2 separate regions of the Homo sapiens genome follow, and region 2 is linked to region 1. The links are contacts of gene promoters, found by promoter capture Hi-C in blood cells and fetal thymus (Javierre and others, 2016). All regions are on one chromosome and are shown on one strand. The core of a region is centred on a gene start or on the middle of the fragment in contact, and the rest is flanking DNA. Distances in the headings are between cores, read along the strand shown. Region 1 holds the start of DUSP23 (dual specificity phosphatase 23). Region 2 holds the start of UHMK1 (U2AF homology motif kinase 1).

What was found. Contacts are between HindIII fragments. The CHiCAGO score rates a contact against its expected background, and 5 or more counts as called.
Region 2: a fragment that was not itself captured here is called in contact with the fragment with the promoter of DUSP23 in region 1 in 2 of 17 cell types (total CD8 T cells and naive CD4 T cells); the score reaches 5.6 in total CD8 T cells.

What each region holds. Positions count from the first base shown.
Region 1 is chr1:159,779,475-159,782,767 of GRCh38, forward strand. DUSP23 (dual specificity phosphatase 23) reads left to right here and starts at 1,488. Exons shown (of 2, transcript NM_001319658.2): 1 at 1,488-1,893; 2 at 2,679-3,069. The coding sequence starts at 1,627. The coding sequence ends at 2,864. RefSeq lists a silencer at 1,423-1,812 and an enhancer at 1,804-2,380. The HindIII fragment of the contact is 4,062 bases long and covers 262-3,293 here.
Region 2 is chr1:162,497,573-162,501,278 of GRCh38, forward strand. UHMK1 (U2AF homology motif kinase 1) reads left to right here and starts at 246. Exons shown (of 8, transcript NM_175866.5): 1 at 246-696; 2 at 2,383-2,675; 3 at 3,341-3,532. The coding sequence starts at 429. RefSeq lists enhancers at 1-482, 217-296, 483-983. The HindIII fragment of the contact is 954 bases long and covers 1,311-2,264 here.

The sequences.
Region 1 (3,293 bases), core at 238-2,737:
AAAAGGGGAGATTTGGCACCTCCTGGAACCTGGGGAAAGTAATTGTCTGGGTAAATGGTAAGTGTATTTCCCACAGGGTCAGAGCAGGCTTTGATCTTTAGGAGAAGACAAATTGCTTTCCATCTTGCTGAAGCCAAAGGCTTAAATGGTCAGACGTGTGTCATAGGTGGGTGCAAAGGGAAGGAAATATAATACATCCTCATGGCCAAGTGCCCTGGGCTTGGATCACTGTGTCCTTGGCCAAGTTAACCAACTTCTTTAAGCTTCCAATGATTCATGTACAAAAAAAGATACAAAAATACCTTTCACATGTGGTTCTTCCAGAAAGCGCTTGGCACAGGGCCTGGTACATAAACAAATTCAATAAGGGTTAACTATTTTCATAATTACAGTTAGTCTGCATCGCTAGAAGCACATTATTCAAATGAGGATATGGACTGGTCAGATGACAGTGGAAACGGTGTTCAGATCTAGGGGCCCCCACCTAGTAAGAACAACACTAATCAACTCTAGCCTGCCCAGGGGACAGTGACCCAGAGAACTAGGAAACCTTGAAAAATGAAGAAATATGAAATACTAATAAAAATTAAGAAAACCCACAAGCGTTTAACCCAGATAATATTTGGGGACATGAGGGGGTTATGTGAAGAGAAAACAATGTTCCATTTAACTTTAGGAAATGGCGATATTATTAAAGATTTTGGAGGCATTAGTCATCATCCTTTGGTCAAGTTTATTAACCTCTCCAGTGCCTCTGTTTTTTCATCCATAAAATGGGATTCACTAGATCACCTATCTTATAAGATTACTGTGGCAATTAAATGAGTCAGTATGTGCTAAGTGCTTAGAAGACTATCTAGCACATAATAAATGCTCAATAAGTCCTGAGGAGCAACTGGATTGACAGGAGAAGTTGGTGCTGGTTATTATTATTACTATAATTATTACCCTGGGTAAGTTTTTAATAGTTCCAGCAATGAAAAAATGAGAATAGCCTCCTTGCAGCAGTAATTCCCTCTTACTGGAACAGTTCAAAAAGTCGCTGATAACGACCAGTCAATCATTAGAGAGGAGACTCCTCGTCCTGGGAGAAAGCCGATTTGTCATCTCTTAAACCCCAGGGCATCCAGCGTGAAGGAGGTAGAACTAGGCCGGCCCGCGAGGAGGCAGGGGCAGGCGCCAGTGACGCAATGACTGCAACATGCCGCCAGGGTGCAGCAGAGCCCGACCCCGGGTTGTTCCATCCGCAGCAAACAATTCCTAACTCGCTCCAGGTCTTCCTTCTTAGCTGAGTGGGTTGAACCCCGTGGAAGTAACCCCCCGCCCATTATGATGATCCAGCCAATCACCGCGTGATCTGCTCGGACGGGGCGGGATCGCGGCGCTTCCCTCGGTCGCTCAGAGACTGGGTTCCGCGTTCCAGCCCCGCCCCAGGTTCTGGGCCAATCCCCGCGGCTGGGCAGAGCGACCCGAGGGCGGCGCCCTGCAGACCACGTGGCCCGGGAGGCGCCGAGGCCAGGTAGGTGGTGAGTTACTTGGCTCGGAGCGGGCGAGGGGACGCGTGGGCGGAGCGGGGCTGGCCAGCCTCGGCCCCCATGACCCGCTGTCCTGTGCCCTTTCCCAGCGATGGGCGTGCAGCCCCCCAACTTCTCCTGGGTGCTTCCGGGCCGGCTGGCGGGACTGGCGCTGCCGCGGCTCCCCGCCCACTACCAGTTCCTGTTGGACCTGGGCGTGCGGCACCTGGTGTCCCTGACGGAGCGCGGGCCCCCTCACAGCGACAGCTGCCCCGGCCTCACCCTGCACCGCCTGCGCATCCCCGACTTCTGCCCGCCGGCCCCCGACCAGATCGACCGCTTCGTGCAGATCGTGGACGAGGCCAACGCACGGGGAGAGGTCAGCGGGCGGGGTCAGCGCAGGGAGGGAGGGGCCTGGAAGGTCAGCGGGGGACACGGGCGGAGCTGGGGAGACCGGGCCTGGGATAACTTAACTGGGCTCGGGGAGGCAGACAGTAGGGCCGGGAGACTGGGAAGCCAGTGCGGGGGAGGGAAGCGCTAAACGGAAGGAACTAAAGAGAGGGCGAAGCAGTGCGAACTGGGCTTGAGGAGAGGCAGTGAAAACCAGCTAATACTGTGAGTTGTGAAGGAGAAGGGTGTGGACAGACACCTGGGAGAGGTGGGGGTTGAAGTCAGGTGGAGGCTGTTTACCATTTTCTAGAGTAAAGCTGTCCAAATATAATGGAACCTAAGTGGCTCCATGTAATGTTAATTTTTCTAGCAACGGCATTCTTAAAAAGCAGGGAAGCAGATAAAATTAACTTTGGTGATCTTAATGAGATATTTTCATTCTTTTTTCTACTACCTCTTCATACCCTGTTGCGTTTTTCACACTACATCTCAGTTTGGACTAGCCACATTTCGAGTACAGTAGCCACAGTAGCCGTGGCTACTGTCTTCTGTATTGAACACCACAGGTGGAGGGCTGTGTAGAGGTGGACAGCTCTTGAACCAGCCAGTGCAGAGGCCTCCTAGCCACCTAGTGCAGGGACAGCCCTCCCTGACTTTGCTGCAGAGCCCTGGACCTGGCACAGAAGAAGGAGCTGTGGGGAGAACCAAGTGAGGGGCAGGAAACAGTTGTGGGTGGGGGAGTTGAGTGGCACCCATCGAGCCCCCTCTTCGTAGGCTGTGGGAGTGCACTGTGCTCTGGGCTTTGGCCGCACTGGCACCATGCTGGCCTGTTACCTGGTGAAGGAGCGGGGCTTGGCTGCAGGAGATGCCATTGCTGAAATCCGACGACTACGACCCGGCTCCATCGAGACCTATGAGCAGGAGAAAGCAGTCTTCCAGTTCTACCAGCGAACGAAATAAGGGGCCTTAGTACCCTTCTACCAGGCCCTCACTCCCCTTCCCCATGTTGTCGATGGGGCCAGAGATGAAGGGAAGTGGACTAAAGTATTAAACCCTCTAGCTCCCATTGGCTGAAGACACTGAAGTAGCCCACCCCTGCAGGCAGGTCCTGATTGAAGGGGAGGCTTGTACTGCTTTGTTGAATAAATGAGTTTTACGAACCAGGGCACGTTGCATGGTACTTTATAAAGCATTCCCACACATTAACTTACTTCAGCCTCACTGTAGCCCTGTGATACAGGAAAGACAGATGGGCCATCTCTGTTCTTTGGATGAGGTGGGCAAAGCTCAGAGAGGCCCATCTTCAACACTTCTAGAAAGTGGAAGGATGGGCCAGAACAGCAACACACGTCTTCAATCCCTTGAAGATGCTGAAATGCTATGTATCTG
Region 2 (3,706 bases), core at 538-3,037, 2.7 Mb after region 1:
CGGGTTCCTAGTGGTGAGGTAAGGTGAGGTGCCTCAACAAGAAAAAGGACCAGTTTTGGCTTCAGGTCTATGTGAAAGCGGTTAACACTGGGCCTGGAATGGTAGATACTCAATAATTAAGGTTACTTCTTATTCTCGGTTCTTTTTTCCAAACCTAGCGCGTCTAATCTCTTCTAGGCCCCGCCCCTTCTGAGCCCCCCCTCCTTCGGCCTGTATGATAGGCTCTTCCTCCATTTCCGGCTTCTGGGACTCGGGTGCACCACGGCTTCCGGTGTCATGGCTGCTTGAAGTCCCGGGAGTCGGTGAGGCGGCTGCAGGTCCCTCCCTGCGGAGCCGCTGGTCCGGCTGGCGGAGATGTGACCGCGGGCCCGGCCGGCCTGCCTCAGGCGTCGCGTCAGCTCCCGTGTCCGTGCCCTTAACCCACACCGATGGCGGGATCCGGCTGCGCCTGGGGCGCGGAGCCGCCGCGTTTTCTGGAGGCCTTCGGGCGGCTGTGGCAGGTACAGAGCCGTCTGGGTAGCGGCTCCTCCGCCTCGGTGTATCGGGTTCGCTGCTGCGGCAACCCTGGCTCGCCCCCCGGCGCCCTCAAGCAGTTCTTGCCGCCAGGAACCACCGGGGCTGCGGCCTCTGCCGCCGAGTATGGTTTCCGCAAAGAGAGGGCGGCGCTGGAACAGTTGCAGGGTCACAGAAACATCGGTAATTGCCGCTGTCTCCTTTCTCTTCTTGCCCAGGTCACAGTCCGAGCACACTCTTCCTCTCGCTGTCTGGCGTTCCATCTTCCTCCCCTTCTGCGGGAGAAGCGGGTTTAGCCCTCTTTATCACCCCATCCAGGCCCCTTTCCCCTTTCACTTTATTACTGTCTGCGGTATAGTGGAGTTGGTGGTCTGCTTTGCCAGGTGTCACATAGATGCTCAGTAAATTGTCTTGCTTCGAGTCTCATCGGAGAATGCCGCATTCATTAGCATACAGAAATATCTTTTCTAGTGAGAGGAGGCATGTCTTTGCTAGATTGTCGTGTCTTGTGTGGAAATTTTTGAATCTTTGCATACCAGTAGAAAATGGGAACTACGTCTGGGCCTTGTGACATCAATGCTAGTAACTCGTATAGCTCACCTATTATATCTTTAGTACGGATTTGGAAGAAATGATGCACTATTCCATGGGAGCCTTTATAGAAGTGTGAAATTTAGGAACACTATACCTTTGCTCTCTTGAGACTGTTTCAAGAATCAGATACTCAGAATGTAAGATATGTAATGATCACTGATGATTGATCTGTGAAAAGGTTTCATTTTCATTACACGACAGAAAGCTTATCATTAGTTATAGCTTTGGTTATTAAAGAAAAGTCTTATTTCCTAGCAAGTATGATGCATAGTTAATTTGAAGAGTGAGTTTTTTTATAATATCATTTTGGAGAAGAATTAACACTAGTGCTACATTTTTTTAGTTTACTAAATGGTCTGTTACTATAACCTTGGTATTGAAAAGGGAAAAATTTTGCAAGCCTAGGGACTTGCCTGATCTCTGCAAGATTAAAATTTCATCCGAAAAGTCTTAATCTCTTTGTTAGTATTTAGATTATAGAGAGCTGTTTATTTTTGTTTTAGTTTTTTTTTTTGAGACAAGTTCTTACTCTGTCACCCAGGCTGGAGTACAATGGCGAGATCACAGTTCACTCCAGCCTCCAATTCCTCCTAAAGCCATGCTCCTACCTCAGCCTCCCAGGTAGCTGGGACTACAGGCACGTAGCACCAAGCCTGGCTAATTTTTTGTAGAGAAGAGGTCCCCTTTTGTTACCCAGGCTGGTCTCCAAACTCCTGGGCTCAAGCAGTCCTCCTGCCTCGGTCTCTCAGAATGCTGGGATCACGGGCATGAGCCACCGTGGCAGACCTAGACTGCTGTTTTGGATGAAGAAGCAATGTTTAGTTTGGTTTTTGCGCATTGTGACATTCCTTTTAAAAGAGTTACTTAATATTTGGGTTTTTACTTTTAAAAATTTCTTTTTTTTTAAAGGACCTCATGATGCAACAGTAAGTTTTATTTATTTATATTTAGGTTTTTTACTTTTAATCATTTTTGCTTGGCACTCCAAGTTCGTGTTCATCACCAATGAGTACTTGGTGAAACACAAATTGAATAATTGTACCATATTTAGTATCTGTGAATGGTAATCAGCTGTTGTAGGCTGTCTCATCTTATTTTTATTAAAATAACCCAATTGCCAAAAGATCTTATTCATGGGAAAAATAAATTACAGTGGAAGCTTGCTCATCAAAGTTATCCTTATCTAGACTATCTCAAATTTGTACTGCAGTTACCTACTTTAGTAGTGACTTACTCTGAGTCTGATTTTTAAAGTATTATAATTTCTTTTTCTAGTGACTTTGTATGGAGTGTTTACAATCCACTTTTCTCCAAATGTGCCATCACGCTGTCTGTTGCTTGAACTCCTGGATGTCAGTGTTTCGGAATTGCTCTTATATTCCAGTCACCAGGGTTGTTCCATGTGGATGATACAGCATTGTGCCCGAGATGTTTTGGAGGCCCTTGCTTTTCTTCATCATGAGGGCTATGTCCATGCGGACCTCAAACCACGTAACATATTGTGGAGTGCAGAGAATGAATGTTTTAAACTCATTGACTTTGGACTTAGCTTCAAAGAAGGCAATCAGGTAAGAAATAACCTTTTCTTTTCTCTCGCAGTTTAAAATGTAGTGGTTGAAGCCAAATATTTTTAAATGACAAGGGTAGTTTAGTAGGGGCTTACAAGTCATTTTAACCTAAATTACTGAAATGCCAGGGGATGCAGTAAATCAAAAGAATTTCAGTGCCACCGTGTAAAAAAAGGACATAATGTTTGGGTCAGGTAGGAGGAGCCAGTGAAGCATGAGAGCTCTGGAATTATTAAAAGTACTTAACCTACATAGAATGGTTTTTTAAATTTTATGCGTGTTTGGCTAATTGCTGAGTTACTATTCCTGGTCTCTTCAGTGTTGGGGCTGTATCTCGTGGCAGAATGCATATGATAGTTCTGCCAAATCCTCTTTTCTCCATGGTTTATCATTTCTTTGCAGTGTCCTTATTATCAGCAGTGCCTAATAGGTAAGAGACAATCCAAAGAAGACTTCTTTATGAGCGCTATATGGAAATGTACAGCTTGCCTCTGAGAACTGCCCAGTTAATGAACCAAAGAATTATGGTAATCAAGGACTAAAAATTTTTAGCATTTAGCTTGGCAGTGGGTTTACTGCACTCTTAGGGAAGTAAATTCACTGTAGAGATGGATAGAAAGGGAGCAGCTTTTTTATTGGTTGTAATATTTACTCATCTTTTTTAGGATGTAAAGTATATTCAGACAGACGGGTATCGGGCTCCAGAAGCAGAATTGCAAAATTGCTTGGCCCAGGCTGGCCTGCAGAGTGATACAGAATGTACCTCAGCTGTTGATCTGTGGAGCCTAGGAATCATTTTACTGGAAATGTTCTCAGGAATGAAACTGAAACATACAGTCAGATCTCAGGAATGGAAGGTAAACTTCACCAGTGCTTTGCTTTGGGGTCCTTACTTTCAACTTAAGAGTATTCAATTTATGATGATTTTTTTTTTTCTTTTGAGATGGAGTTTCACTCTTTCACCCAGGCTGGAGTGCAGTGGCGCAATCTCAGCTCACTGCAACCTCCACCTTCCGGTTTCAACCAATTCT